Linked DNA regions of Homo sapiens: region 1 is linked to region 2. Evidence: promoter capture Hi-C in human tissues and cell types (Jung and others, 2019). All regions are on one chromosome and are shown on one strand. The core of a region is centred on a gene start or on the middle of the fragment in contact, and the rest is flanking DNA. Distances in the headings are between cores, read along the strand shown. Region 1 holds the start of TRIM14 (tripartite motif containing 14). Region 2 holds the start of GABBR2 (gamma-aminobutyric acid type B receptor subunit 2).

Region 1 (7,260 bases), core at 2,010-4,509, 590 kb after region 2:
GGAGGGGCAGATGATCTCCATTGCACAGGGCGATTAGATTCTGGAGCTGAGGTGGGGACTGCAGGAGGCCACCTAGTCTGGTAGGTTTCAACCCAAGCTGTGTACATTAGAATTCCCTTGGGAGCGTGCAGGAAATACAGATGCCCATGCCACATTCCAGACCAACTGAAGCTGAATCTCCAGAGTAGGGCCTGTATGGTCATATAAGCTCCACAGGTGATCTGCAGTACAGTGAAGATGGAAGACTGCATGTGTACCTATTTGCAATAAAGATGAAGAGGACAGCAAGCTCCAGACAGGAGCTGGGACTCAACCCAGATCTCTTAAGTCCTGCCTGGTGGCTCCTTAAAAGTCCAGAAGTGTTGCCCCAAGCCCTCCCTCAACATCTCTGGGAACCGCAGCTGCAGCACGATGGGGGTTCAGTGCCCCTGTTTGCCCCTTACCCAGCTGTGGTTTATTCTGCTTGTATGTCTGCACAGGCCGGATGCTCGTGTTCCTTGTCTTATTCTCCATTTACTCAGTCACTGGGGCTCACTCCCGTCTGATGCACTAGCCAAGATTGCCTTAGTGTGCTCCAGAAAAGAAGGCCAAATCCCAGGCATTGTCAGGGCAGCAGAGCTCTACAGGATAGGCTTACCTTTCCCACCTGTGTGGCTAGCACTTCACAGTTTACAAATTCCTCCCACCTCCACTCAGTGACACATGCTGTTCTAACACAGGTCAGGCAGGCATTACAGTCCCCATGTTCAGAATCAAAGACCTAGCCTCAGAGAAGTGAAGAAACATCATGCCAAGGTCATTGACTGCCAAGCGGTAGAGGTGGGGTTGCATCCAGAGAGCTTCCCGGTATGCCTCTGCACAATGCCATTCCTTGGCCAGCTCCCTCCACCCCAAGGGACCCAGACTGCACACTTAACAAACAGGACACAGGTGTCTTTGAACAAACTTTTTTGTATTATTATTTTTACATCTAGAATAAATTATTTAAATTATTTCACAGCAAGGGAGAGGGATAGGTAATTTTTATCAGATATTTTTTTAAACCATCTGTTTTTTAAATTACATTTTTGTTTATGTTCTTGAGCTGATGTAGTGGAACTTGCCTAGCACATTCAGGTCCCAGCCAGTTGGCAGAGCATGCTCTCATCTCCTTATTCCATACCCTGGGCGTCCCCTTTCTGTTGACTCAGGAACTTTCTGAGAATGAGGACAGCACTAGGAGATGAGCTTTGGCAGGTATCCACCTTAACGCTACAATAATTGTGCTTCCTGAAACAAAACTTGAGATTGTATCATAGAAGGAAACAGGAAGTCAGAAATCAAATCTATGCTTTTAATTGAAACCGTGCCTGAAACAGTTTGAATGATTGTTTTAATGTTGTTTCTGAAATTCCTTGTACCTTTGTGAAAAATAATGATAATAAATAAAAGTGAAAATAAATAGATGTGGAATATGCAATGGAAATAATGTAACAAAATAATAAACATCTGGCCATTTTACTACAAGGAGCTTTCCTTTTCTTGATTTGTTCCACAAATACCAATTAACTATCTACTCTTGGAGTCAGACACCAAGCTGGAAAACAGGCAGAACAGACAGTCTTTGCCCTCTCCAGTTTTCAGTCATGGCTGCGGGAATGGGGAGGGCCAGGATAGGGAAAGCATAGGCTGTTCTGGAAGGAGAAGGAGGGAAGGCTTCCTGGAGGAAAAGATAGTAAGGTAGAAACCTGCAGAGTAAGTTGGAATACTCAGGGCAAAGGGCATTTGGGAAGAAGAATGTTCCAAGCAGGGTAAACTGCACGTCCCCCAGTCTTGAAAAAGCACAGGGTGGAGCATAGGCAGGGCGGAGACCAAGGATCTTAAGAAAGAGCTGAGGGCTTTATAAGTGGAAGTCTAGACTTGAGCCTGGGGGGGCAACTGGAATTTGGGGTGGTGGTGTGTGTGTGAAAGTTGTCAGTACCAAAACAGAGTCACTTACATCAAAACCAAACTAAATGGTGCTCCTGTAGTCCCAGCTACTCCAGAGATGAGGTGGGAAGATCACTTGAGCCCAGGAGTTAGAGGCTGCAGTGAGCTATGATCGCACTATTGCACTCCAGCCTGGGCAACAGAGCGAGATCCTGTCTCAAACAAACTAAATGGTGCTGGGAGGCCATGAAGTGGGGGGCCCTCATCAACGATTTGCCTGGTAACAGGAACTATTATTGCAAAAGATTCCACCAAACTGCAACCTTGCACAAAGAACCACAACCTTGCACAAAAGCCATGATATGAGGACATCTGCCCAGCAACTGCCTGTTCAACTTTTGGACTGAAGCCACCTGTATTAATTCTTGTAACCAAGTATTATTATTTTAAAACGATCTGGCCGGGCGCGGTGGATCACGCCTGTAATCCCAGCACTTTGGGAGGCCGAGGCGGGCAGATCACGGGGTCAGGAGATCGAGACCATCCTGGCTAAAACAGTGAAACCCCTTTTCTACTAAAAATACAAAAAATTAGCCGGGCGTGGTGGCGGGCGCCTGTAGTTCCAGCTACTCGGGAGGCTGAAGCAGGAGAATGGCGTGAACCCGGGAGGCGGAGCTTGCAGTGAGCAGAGATGGCGCCACTGCACTCCAGCCTGGGCGACAGACCGAGACTCCGTCTCCAAAAAAAAAAAAAAAAAAAAAAAACAAAAACAAACAAACAAACAAAAAAAACAGTATATGCAATCCTCCTCGTTTTGCCTTTAAAAGCCTCTGCTTTCCTTTGCCTCCCTGAGTACTCCGCGTCCCCACCCCTTGGGTGCCATGGCACATTTATTCCCGAATTGCAATCCTTCTGCTCAGTCCGAAATAAACTCAATTGGAGAATCTCTGTGTCCTTATTTGAGGTTGATGAAGGTATCTTACAGTTGTGGGAATGATTATCTTTCCGGGGAAAAGGGCAAGAGAGGATCAAGGGAAAGTGAGAGGAGCACCCCCGGAAGGTCACAGCCAACTTTGGTCCCATCATCAGGGCTGCAGTTTTCTGGGCGTTACTGGAACAGCGTCATTAAGCAGGAAGCCCACCCTCTCCTAGCTGGCTCATTAGGAGCTTCCCATTTCTGGTGGGACCACCTCCCGGCCTGGGCGGGCAGAGGGAGCACCCTGCTGGTCGGAGGATGCTCCGAGGCCCGACGCTGCTCCCGGCGGGCTGTCATCCTCCTAGGGGTCGGCCGGCCGGCCTGGAGCCGCCCCGCCCACGGCCGAGGTTTCGGTTTCCCTTGGGAGCCCCGCCCTGTGTCCCGGGGAGCCGGAGGAGGTGGAGATGAATGGCGGGCGCGGCGACCGGGAGCCGGACCCCTGGGAGGTCGGAGCTTGTCGAGGGATGCGGCTGGCGCTGCCCGGAGCATGGCGACCGCGTGGCTGAGCTCTTCTGTCGCCGCTGCCGCCGCTGCGTGTGCGCGCTTTGCCCGGTGCTGGGCGCGCACCGTGGCCACCCTGTGGGCCTGGCGCTGGAGGCAGCGGTGCACGTGCAGGTGGGGACGATGGGGACGGGGTTCGCCGCGCGGGAGTTGGGGGAGCCAGCCCAGGCATAACGGCCGAGGAGGGGGCGTGCCTGGCCGTGGCCAGTGGCGGGTTACAACCTGGAAACCAAAGGTGCCCCAGAGGGCGTCTAAGCGGTCGACCGAAAGTTCAGAGCGGGAGCCTGAGACCCAAGGAAGGGCAAAGGCGAGCCAAAGCCATCAGTTGAGCTTCAGAAAAGGTGGGTTTAGGAGTGAGAGGTTGGGAGCCCAGGCTGGTACCCAGATGTCCTTGACCGTGTCCACCATGGCCGATCCGCCACACTGCCATTGGGCTGGAAGACAGTCTGCCTTTTAGTTAACAGAGGTACAAACTCTCCCTCTTAATAAACAGCCCTGTGTAGCTCAGAAAGCCACACAGACATCTCAGGTTTACTTAATCTGCAGTCCACAGAAAGGGCCTGTGAACTTTGAGCTGAGGACGGCCTGACTGCCCTGGGAGCAGCCTCAGCTGTCACTACCTACCTCCTCTCCCCTCCCCGGCCACACAGACACTCCCATTCCTGCTCATAGCAGCCCTGGGTGAGCCATTATTATTACAGCCATTTTATAGGCCACAAGAGGAAGGCTCTGGAGGCAGGGGCAGGCCTTGAACCCAGGACTCCATTAGCCAGATGCCCCCAACAGGGCCATTGTCACCGTGGAACCCTTACCCATGCATAATCCTAACAGTGCCCCAGGGGCTCTGGGCTCCTGCTCCAGCTTCCCAGCTGACTTTTTCTGTGGCTTCTCTCAAATCCTTCTCTCTCTCTGGGTTTCATGAAGCCTGGGTGAGGTAGGCCCTCATGTCTGACAGCTGTTGATCCTACCACTTGTCTCCAAGAAGTCTTCTGTGATGAATTCAGCCCCATCGTGAGCCTTTCTCCGGTACTGCATGACTCCAGACCACCACACTGTGACAACCTTGGAACTCCAAGGTGAAAAGGGGATCATGGGGGACAATCCAGTGGAGTCGTGGGCTCAAGACCTGTCCCTGCCACCAGACCCTTCCTTTTTTTAACGTATGAAATGGCTGTAATTATAATAATGGCTCCTTGAAAAACTGTTATTCAGAATTAACAAGGCTGCTTTCCACAGATCTGGCTCAAGAGTCTCACCCATCCATTTGTCCATCCCCCTACCCACTACCTACTGTCAACTTGAAGTAATAAGATTCAGAAAATATGATTAAGTACAGAGTTTATCCAAGCCTAAAGCTTGAGGATGGCCAACTGGGACCATAGATTCAAATTTCTGTGACTATCCACTCTGATTAGCAGCAGTTACATATAAGTTTTTAAGGAAAAAAGAAGAAGCAGTTCCTAAATTGTTTACCAAGAATTTACATTAAAATGACATAAGCAGTCGGGCACAGTGGCTCATGCCTGTAATCCCAGCACTTTGGGAGGCTGAGGCAGGAGGATCACATGAGGCCAAGGGTTTGAGGCCTGGCCAACATGGGGAAACCCCGTCTCTATTAAAAAATATGAAAATCAGCCAGGTGTGGTGGTACACATCTGTAATCCCAGCTACTCAGGAGGCTGAGGCATGAGAATCGCTTGAACCTGGGAGATGGAGGTTGCAATGAGCCGAGATCACGCCACCGCACTCCAGCCTGGATGACAGAGTGAGACTTTGTCTTAAATAAATAAATAAATAAATAAATAAATAAATAAATAAAACAGAGAATCTCTATGGCAGAACAACACCAAACCTATTCCACTGGGGAGTCAACTAAAAACATCACGAAGAAAATCCCAAGCCTTCTTTAAAAGCCAGGAATTGGCTTCTAAAACTTTTTCTACAACCTTCCTTGTTGTAGCCAGGAAATAATTCAGGATTTAGTCCAAATTGCAGGAAAATAAAAACTAAAAAACAATGGCCAGGGCTGGAATCTAATAACAGGAATAACAGGTGTGCATAACAGGTGTGCTAAGATTTTCTTCTGAAACATAATTTTTCTCTCTCTAGTTCCCTGTTTTTACCAAAAATGAGTCTTGATAGGACAAATTTACTTGCAAAGTAAGTTTTAATATTACACTTGGCCTGATAATTTGCATTATTGGAACTTTCATAAGGAATTTTGGATTTGACTTTTTTTTTTTTTTTTTTGAGACACAGGGTCTCACTCTGTCACCCAGACTAGAGTGCAATGGCATGATCGTGGCTCACTGCAACCTCCACCTCCCAGGGTCAAGCAATCCTCCTACCTTGGCCTCCCAAGTAGCTGGGACTATAGGTATGCACCACCACACCTGGCTAATTTTTTTTTTGTATTTTTTTTGTAGAGACGGGGTTTCACCATGTTGTCCAGGCTGGTCTAGAATTCCTGGGCTCAAGTGATCCTCTTGCCTCAGCCTTCCAAAGTGCTGGGATTATAGGCGTGAAACACCACGCCTGGCCTGGATTTGACTTTTAAAAGCCTTACAGCTAAAAAGCCAAACCAAGGATTCACCATCAGACTATGCCTGTGATACCCATACACATTGGGTGAATTATTCTCTTCTCAAGGTCCCAAAATATCTTGAGGTTCCTAGACCTGTCGGAAAGTGACATTCTTTTCTTACCACAAGGTCGGGAACCTTGTAAGGGAACTGTGTAGACAAGGACCAAGCTAGTCCAGTCTTTCCAAGGATTTTTTTTTTTTTTTTTTTTTGAGACAGGGTCTCACTCTGTTGCCCAGGCTGGAGTGTGGTGGTGCAATTTTGGCTCACTGCAGCCTCCACCTCCCAGGTTCAAGTGATTCTCCCACTTCAGCTTCCTGAGTAGCTGGAACTACAGGTGTGCACCACCACTCCTGGCTAATTTTTGTATTTGTTGGTAGAGATGTGGCTTCACCATGTTGGCCAGGGTGGTCTTGAAAACTCCGACCTCAAGTGAACTGCCCACCTCAGTGTCCCAAAGTGCTGGGCCCCCTTTTATTGTATTTTATTTTATTCTTGTTAACATTTTTTAATAGAGGCGGGGTCTCACTATGTTGCCCAGGCTGGTTTCAAACTCCTGGACTCAAGTGATCCACCTACCTCAGCCTCCCAAAGTGCTGGGATTACAGACCTGAGCCACCAAGCCTGGCCCCCAAGGGTCTTCTTATGGGCTCTGTAAACTTGACTTCAGTTCCTGAAAGCAGTCTGATCATATATGAAGATATATCATTTCAGTCAAAGCCTTGGTAAAATTACCAGTGTCTCCAATGTGGTCTGTTATGAAAGAAAACATACTCTTATTGAACTTATGCAAATAACTATATTGTCATAAAATAAGAATACTCACAAATAGCCAGGTGCGGTGGCTCACGCCTGTAAACCCAGCACTTTGGGAGGCTGTGGTGGGCGGATCAGTTGAGGTCAGGAGTTGGAGATCAGCCTGGCCAACATGGTGAAACCCCATCTTTACTAAAAATACAAAAATTGTGCTGGGCTCAGTGGCTCACGCCTGTAATCCTAGCACTTTGGGAGGCCAAAGTGGGTGGATCACGAGGTCAGAAGTTCGAGACCAGTATGACCAACATGGTGAAACCTATCTCTACTAAGAATGCAAAAATTAGCTGGGCATGGTGGTGGGCACCTGTAATCCCAGCTACTCGGGAGGCTGAGGCAGGAGAACTGCTTGAACCCCACGAGGCAGAGGTTGCAGTGAGCCAAGATTGTGCCACTGCACTCCAGCCTGGGCAACAGAGAAAGACTCCACCTCAGAAAGAAAAATTAGCCAAGCGTGGTGGCATGTACCTGTAGTCCCAG
Region 2 (6,871 bases), core at 2,829-5,328:
AAAAAATAGGCTGCCAACTACTTGGTTGAAAGAAACATTTCCATATAAACATGAATGAGAAATAACATGGGAGATGTTTGCAAAGATGGCATGTGTGTGCCTATGTGTGTGTATGTAAACCATACACACACACACACACTCTCTCTCTCACACACACACACACAATTGCAGCTCCACCCTTCCAGTCTCAATCCTATATATTAGTTTGGTACAAAAGTAATTGCAGTTTTTACCATTACTTTCAATGGCAAAAACTGCAATTACTTTTGCACCAACCTTATATCAACTATATATATATAGTTTGTTTTGTTTTAAAGAAGAAAGTGAGAGAAGACCTTGCTGCTGTTAGGAGTTAGAGTAGAGGCAGGCATGGATAACAATCAAATGGGGAAAAGGGTGTTAAAAACTGGACCCAGTTCCTGGAAGGAGGCAGCTCTGGAGGGCAGATCTGAGCAGCCCTGGGTGGCACAGGGTGTCAGCCCAATAAGGAAGGAGAGCAGACAGCAGAGAAAGGCCTGGTTAGCTTCCCAGCATCAGGATCCTGTTCAAAGGGATGGAGTGTCATGTTGACAGGGAGCCAGCTGGACCATGGAGCCCCAAAATCCCCAGAAAGGAAGCGGGCACCATCTCTCAACCTCTGAGCTGGGGTTTAGAGACTGGCTTCTGTGTGTAGGCAGAGGGTTTGTGAGAAAAGATTGCTAAGGAAACAGGATTATGCAAACAAGATAATAATTTAAGCCATACAGACCTGGGCTAACACGGATGTTTCATTACTTCCTGGAGGTGCAACCTGAGCACGTTGCTTTCTAAGTCTCTATTACATCTCTTAAAAGGTAGATGAGTTCAAGGGAATCAAGTGTTTTCCACATTCTGGGACTTGGCCAATGCATTTTATTCCAATTAATAAGAAGCACAATGATTAGCCAATTCTCATCCTCTCTTCTGCTTATACCCTGGCCTGGCCACCAAATGTGCTTATTGTAGTAGAGACTCCTAACAGGTATTCCTGCTCACGCTCTTTTCCCCTGCTAACGGTTCTTCACTCTACAGCCAGAGTGATCCTCTTAAAATACATCAGATCATGTCACTGCTCCACCCAGTAGCCTCCCACGGTTGCTGTTTCATGTGCCCTCCCAGTGCTGAGGCCCCATACAGTCCTACCTGCCTTTGACCTTGGATCTGATTGCTTTCCCTTTGCCCACTCTGCTCTACCACATTGGCTTCCACATTGTTCCTTGAACATGCCAGGCACACTCCTGTCTCGGAGCCTCTGCCCTTGCTGTTCCTCTGCATGGAACACTATTCGCCTGTCTCTCTTACTTACCTTCTTTATGTCTTTGCTGAGGAGTCACCTTAGTGTGTCTTTCCCTGACCTCCCTATTTCAAATTGCAGCCCCACTCTGCCAGTCTCAATCCTCTTTCCTGCTTTTTTGTTCACCATAGCACTTTTCATAAATGGGCATACTAACATATCTTCTTCTTCCTATTTATTGTTTCTCTTTCTCCACTAGAATGTCAATTCTACAAGGGCAGGGATTTTGTTCTGGTTTTTTCCTTCCTATATCATCAGCTCCTAGGACAGTGCCTAGCAGGTAGCATGCCCTTCAAAACACTGGTCAAAGGAATGAATGATTATTATAAAGCAAGACGCTGGACCCCAGCTCTGGAGGAACATGCATTCTAGGCTGGTGACTGAGGCAGGAACTCAGACTCAGGAAGCACATCAGGGATGCAGTTACCCAAACTGTAATACCAGGCCAGAGTAAGATCTTGGAACCAGAGGGATGCCCAGGCATTAGGAGTGGGCTGTGAGATCAGAGATTGGCCTGGAGCCATGCTGATGGAGAGTGAGATTGGTGCCCCCTGGGTCAGGGCAGATCCCAGGTCATGCGTCTTGGGGCCAGGTCACCCCACCATAAAAGAAGACAGAGGGGCTGTAGGGCAGGATGCCAGGTAGGGCCTTCAACCCCTTAGTAAATGTCAGGCAAAGTTACCCAGCTTTCAACTTATTCCCAGATGTAGGTGTCAGTGGACACTCTATATTGGCACAGCTTGCAAGGAGGACACAAATGACTAAAGGAAAGAATTAGAAAAAAGAAAAAAACCAAGTGAAAATGTTCATTCAGAAACCTGAGCTAAGGGTTTGAGGAATGGCAGGTGCCAGAAGACTATGACTGGAGGATATTTGTGATGTCAAGTGAGACAGCAGTTGAGCGAGTATCTGGGGATTACACTGTCCTTTGGACCATTTCTTTCCCTCCCTCCCTTCCTTCCTCCCTTCCTGGAGGAGATGCTCAGGTGAGTTCTGTTCATGCAAACCCTCCAGCTTGGGGAAAAGGAAATGCCAAGTGGAGCCGGGAGAGGTGGAGTCTATAGAAGCCTGGAAAGAGAAGTTAGGGCAGAGAGAATTTGGCCTGGTTTCCCTGGCGCTGTCCAAGGTACTCTCTAGTAGTTCTGCTCAGCCTCCACTCACATCTTTGTGCTTCCTAACAACTCAGCCTGGATTCAGAGCTGCCCTTGCCTCACTCCAGTAGAGCTGGTGTGTGGCCATCATCATCATCATCCGGTCCAAATCCCTCACCATATGCCGGAGGGAATCGATGTCCAGAGCAACTGAGTCAGGGCAGTGCTCCTCCTGGAGAGGAAACTTGCAGTCCCACATCCCTGGCTCCCACTGCACTGTGCACGGAGTTCCTGCTGGCTCTGGGTTCCGGTCCTTCAGTAGCTCTGTGTGCTTCCACTAGCTACAGAACCTCTCTGAGCACCAGTGTATTCGCCTGTAAAGTAAGGGTGAGTAACACAGTATGCTTACAGGGCAGTTGTGGGGATTACATCATAAGGCACACAGTAAGTACTCAGCGAAGGTCAAACTTCCATTCTTGTTACAAGGTCGTCGATATCTTCCACAGTCCCTGGTTCAGGCTCAAGTATGTTTTGTGATTTGATGTCCTACTGTGTTCCTCGCATTAATCAGCCCCTGGGACTTTATAGATTAATGATCACGTTTCCTATTCTTGAAGTATGCAGAGGCACAAGGAACCCAAGGTCTTAGGTCAGCTCACTCGGGTACATCTGGCTCGGGACTGCTTTGGCTAAGATTGGCCAGTGCGACCTGGCAGAGAGAGGGCCAAGTCCAGGGGCGCGCGGCCCCGCCCTGGCCTGAGGATAGTGCTCCCACCCCGGGAGACTTCTAGGGCGGGGCCCATCAAGAATGGGGACGCGGGGAGGTCAAATGCCTGGAGGGGGCGGTAGCGCACGTAAGGTTGGGACCCCAGCTTTGCTTGGGGTTGGCAAAGGGCGGTCGCTCCGTCTGGTGGGGAGGAAAGGGGTGTCCTCAGCCAAGGCCCTAAAGGCCGGGCAGCCTGGCACCAACGGGCGTTCGAGCACCCGTGGGCGTCTTCAGCGACCCCCGGGACTCGGTCAGGGGCTCGTGGGCGCCAGAAAAGAACGGGAGAGCGTAGGCTGCAGATGCCTCTGGGACGCCTTCGTGGAACATTCTCCTGCCCAGACCTTCCCGGCCAGACCTCCGAGAAGCGGTTCCAAACCACCGTGCAGGTGCTACAGGCAGCGCTCGGCGGAGCGGCGGCGGCCACTGCGTGTGCCAGCGCGCGGTCCCGGTTCCCAGATCGCTGTCCCCGGGCGCTCTGGTGCCTGGAGGTCAGCGGTCGGCGGGCAGCGGCAGCTGGCGCAGCGGAGGGCCGGGGGCGCGTGTGTGCGTGTGCTGGGAAGGTGGCCCTCCCCGCGGCCGCCGCAGCGCCAGCGCCTCCCCCTCCCCCGGCGCGCACGGCTCGTCCCCGTCCCTGGAGGCGGCCCGAGCCGCCCCTGAGCAGCCTCGCCTTCGCCTCCCGCGTTTCCTGCCGTCCGCCCTCCCCCGGCCGAGCTCCAGGGGCTGCCGCCTAGCAGCTCCCGGCGGGAGAGCGGTTCAGAGCGCGCACGGGGGCGGGCGGAGGCGGCCCGGTGCGGGGCGGCCGCGCTGGAGAGAGGCGCGCGCGGAGACGCCGGCCCCCCTCTCCGCGTTTGCTCGCTTGCTCCCCGCCTCCCGCACTCCGCTCGCTCCCACCCCTTCCCGGCGTGATTGATCCGTCACGGGCGCCGCCGCTGCCGCCGCCGCCGCCGCGGCCGTTCTGAGCCGAGCCGGAACCCTAGCCCGAGACGGAGCCGGGGCCCGGGCCGGCGCCATTGCGCGGGCGCCGCGGGAAGACCTTGGCGCGGGGCGGCGGGCCGGGCCAGGCCATGCGGGCCGAGTGAGCCGGCGCCCGCAGCCCGCGGCGCGGCATGGCTTCCCCGCGGAGCTCCGGGCAGCCCGGGCCGCCGCCGCCGCCGCCACCGCCGCCCGCGCGCCTGCTACTGCTACTGCTGCTGCCGCTGCTGCTGCCTCTGGCGCCCGGGGCCTGGGGCTGGGCGCGGGGCGCCCCCCGGCCGCCGCCCAGCAGCCCGCCGCTCTCCATCATGGGCCTCATGCCGCTCACCAAGGAGGTGGCCAAGGGCAGCATCGGGCGCGGTGTGCTCCCCGCCGTGGAACTGGCCATCGAGCAGATCCGCAACGAGTCACTCCTGCGCCCCTACTTCCTCGACCTGCGGCTCTATGACACGGAGGTGAGTGTCCGGCTGCCCCTGCCGTCGGGGCTTCGGGGGGCATTGGGGTGGGTGGTTTGGACACAGGCAACCTCCGGCCTTTGGTCAGATCCCCGATTGACCGGCCCGCGCCTGCCGAGGGCAGAGAGGGCTGGTGCCCAGTGTTCACCCCCGCGGTCCTGCTGGGCTTGGCTGGCACAGCTGGTAACATTTGCCAAGCACCCCCTCCTCTGGTCTTATGTGTGTATGTGTGTGTGGGGAGGGGTGGGGGTGGGATAGAAGACTGGGGTCTCTTTTGACCAGAGAAAAAGGAGTGGAGAAGGTGGGGGCTGGACCCCCAAAGGCCTACATTGATTGTCCCTGTCCAGGTCCCGCTCATGGGGCTGCGAGGTACCGAGTGGGAGGAACAGGCGCATTGACTGCAAACTGGGCCACCCAGGGCCGGAGGGGCCGCGGGCCTGCTCACAGGCCCCCAGGGAAGCCGAGCCGCGCTTTGAGGTCCGGAAGGCTCCGGAACCCAAGGGGCTTGAGCGTGCAGCGTGGCTGGGCGCCTGGTGCGCGCCAGCAGCTCTGAGCCCGCTCCGCGCGGGCAAGTGTGGGGCCACCGGCTCTGCAGCGCTTCTGCCTGGACGTGCCCGGCGCTGCCTGTGGCCAGAGCGATTTCAGGAGACCCCTGCCTCGGGTTAGTTGCTCAGAAAGTGCCCTGGCAGTTCTCGTCCCGGACGTGCAGTGGTGTCCGGCCGCGCCGCTGCTGTTGGCCGGGCGGCTGCAGGCAGTTTCTCACGGCTCAGGCTTGAAGCATCCGACCTAGCAGCCGGAGCACAGACTTGGAGAGCAGTCCGGAGCGGAGCCAGAGAGCCAAGGGCTTTCCATCCCAAGACCCCTCCCCACGCCCTCGGTTTGGGTTCTGCCTGAAGCCCCAGAGCGGACCTTCACCGCCAGGCCGGGGCTGGAGCGCGCGGAGCGGGTCTGGAGGAGCGATCGCTGGCCGCGCAAGGTCGGGTTTGCGAGTTTTTCCGGACCGAGCGAGCCCCTGTGCTCCGACCGCAGCGTCTGAGACGCGGCCTGAAGGGGGCAGTGATTTCCTGTGCAGTACGCTCGGTTGGCGCCTCTTCCATCGCGCGGAACGGGGCCGAGGCGCTGGGCTTGATCCTGGCTTCCTGGGACTCTCCGGGCGCTTCTGCTGGAGTCCAGGTGCAGAACCCTTTTGGGAGGAGGGTCGCGCTACTGCTCTGGTGGTGCAATCTGGGCTTCCCCTCCTCCTTGGTCGGACCCTCTTTATGTCCCCAGAGAAAGAGCAGAATCTAGATTGTATCTTATTCCCTGCCTCCCCCGCTTCACCGGTGAACCAGCTTGCTCTGCGCTGTAAATAAAAGGTGAAGGAACCGGTGGCAGTTGGCAGCGGTACGCGCAGGCTGCTGCAGGCGGAGAGGCGTCCTCTGCCCCAGAGGATGCAAGCTGGCTGGCTGTGCAGGGCTAACCCGGTGTGAAATCATTTCCGAATGACATTCCTATCGCCCTCGTCTTTGCCTGAGCATCTCAAGTTCTGTGGGGGTACTTGTCTGGCACACATAAATGGAGACAGCAATGCAGTTACACGGAGGCATATCTTCTTGACAGTTTCTCTGTTGCTACTGCACATATTCTTCTGGAGGGGTCACTGCAAAGCCGGTCTTTTGGGGACAAACACATTTTTAGATAGGGCAGCCCTGCTTGCATCATCACCAAGTATTGTCAGCTGCATAATGTTTTCATCATCAGTTTCTTCCCTTTAGAAAGCTTCCCTGAAAGAGATTTCATACTGGCCTGTTTGTGGCAGCAAAGAGATGGGTGCTTCGTTTCAGGGTGTGGGTTGAAGCCTTTACATTTTATTTTTCGAGTGTGTCTTGATGACTTTCTGAGTGAAAGGACCCAAAGTCAAGAGGATGAGACAGTCAGAAGACTCTTCAATTCGTGGGAATATTTAGAAAACAGTGGGAAGGAAGACAGAAGATAATTTTAGCTTCGTGCAAACAGAGAAGTGTCTCTAGCCTTTTGAAGGGGCCCAGAGCCAGGGCTTTGGGGTAGGTGGGGCCTGGGTTTTAGTGAGAAACTGGTTACTTTCCACCCTGGATGACCTTGAGCTGGGTATTTAATCTCTCTAAGCCTAGGTGGGAATATTATGTGTACTCTGCAGGTGACACACAGCTTAAGGAAGATAACAGGCCAGGGTAGAAGATGCCCTGAGCTGGCAGGCTCAGCGGCCAGTGCTCTGGCATGCTGTAAGCACTAAATAAATGTGTCCTGCTGCCTCCCC

Evidence for each region. Contacts are between HindIII fragments. The study calls those that stand out against the background at their distance.
Region 1: the fragment with the promoter of TRIM14 here is called in contact with the fragment with the promoter of GABBR2 in region 2 in 3 of the 25 tissues and cell types used here (IMR-90 fibroblasts, adrenal gland and mesendoderm cells).

Annotation. Positions count from the first base shown.
Region 1 is chr9:98,115,221-98,122,480 of GRCh38, reverse strand. It overlaps TRIM14 (tripartite motif containing 14), which reads left to right and starts at 3,259. Exons shown (of 6, transcript NM_014788.4): 1 at 3,259-3,499. The coding sequence starts at 3,293. It overlaps CORO2A (coronin 2A), which reads left to right. Exons shown (of 12, transcript NM_052820.4): 12 at 1-1,506. RefSeq lists a silencer at 3,326-3,425 and an enhancer at 3,736-3,785. The HindIII fragment of the contact is 7,744 bases long and covers 1-6,218 here.
Region 2 is chr9:98,706,142-98,713,012 of GRCh38, reverse strand. It overlaps GABBR2 (gamma-aminobutyric acid type B receptor subunit 2), which reads left to right and starts at 4,078. Exons shown (of 19, transcript NM_005458.8): 1 at 4,078-4,596. The coding sequence starts at 4,276. RefSeq lists enhancers at 2,692-2,986, 4,739-5,309, 5,881-6,452. The HindIII fragment of the contact is 12,748 bases long and covers 1-6,871 here.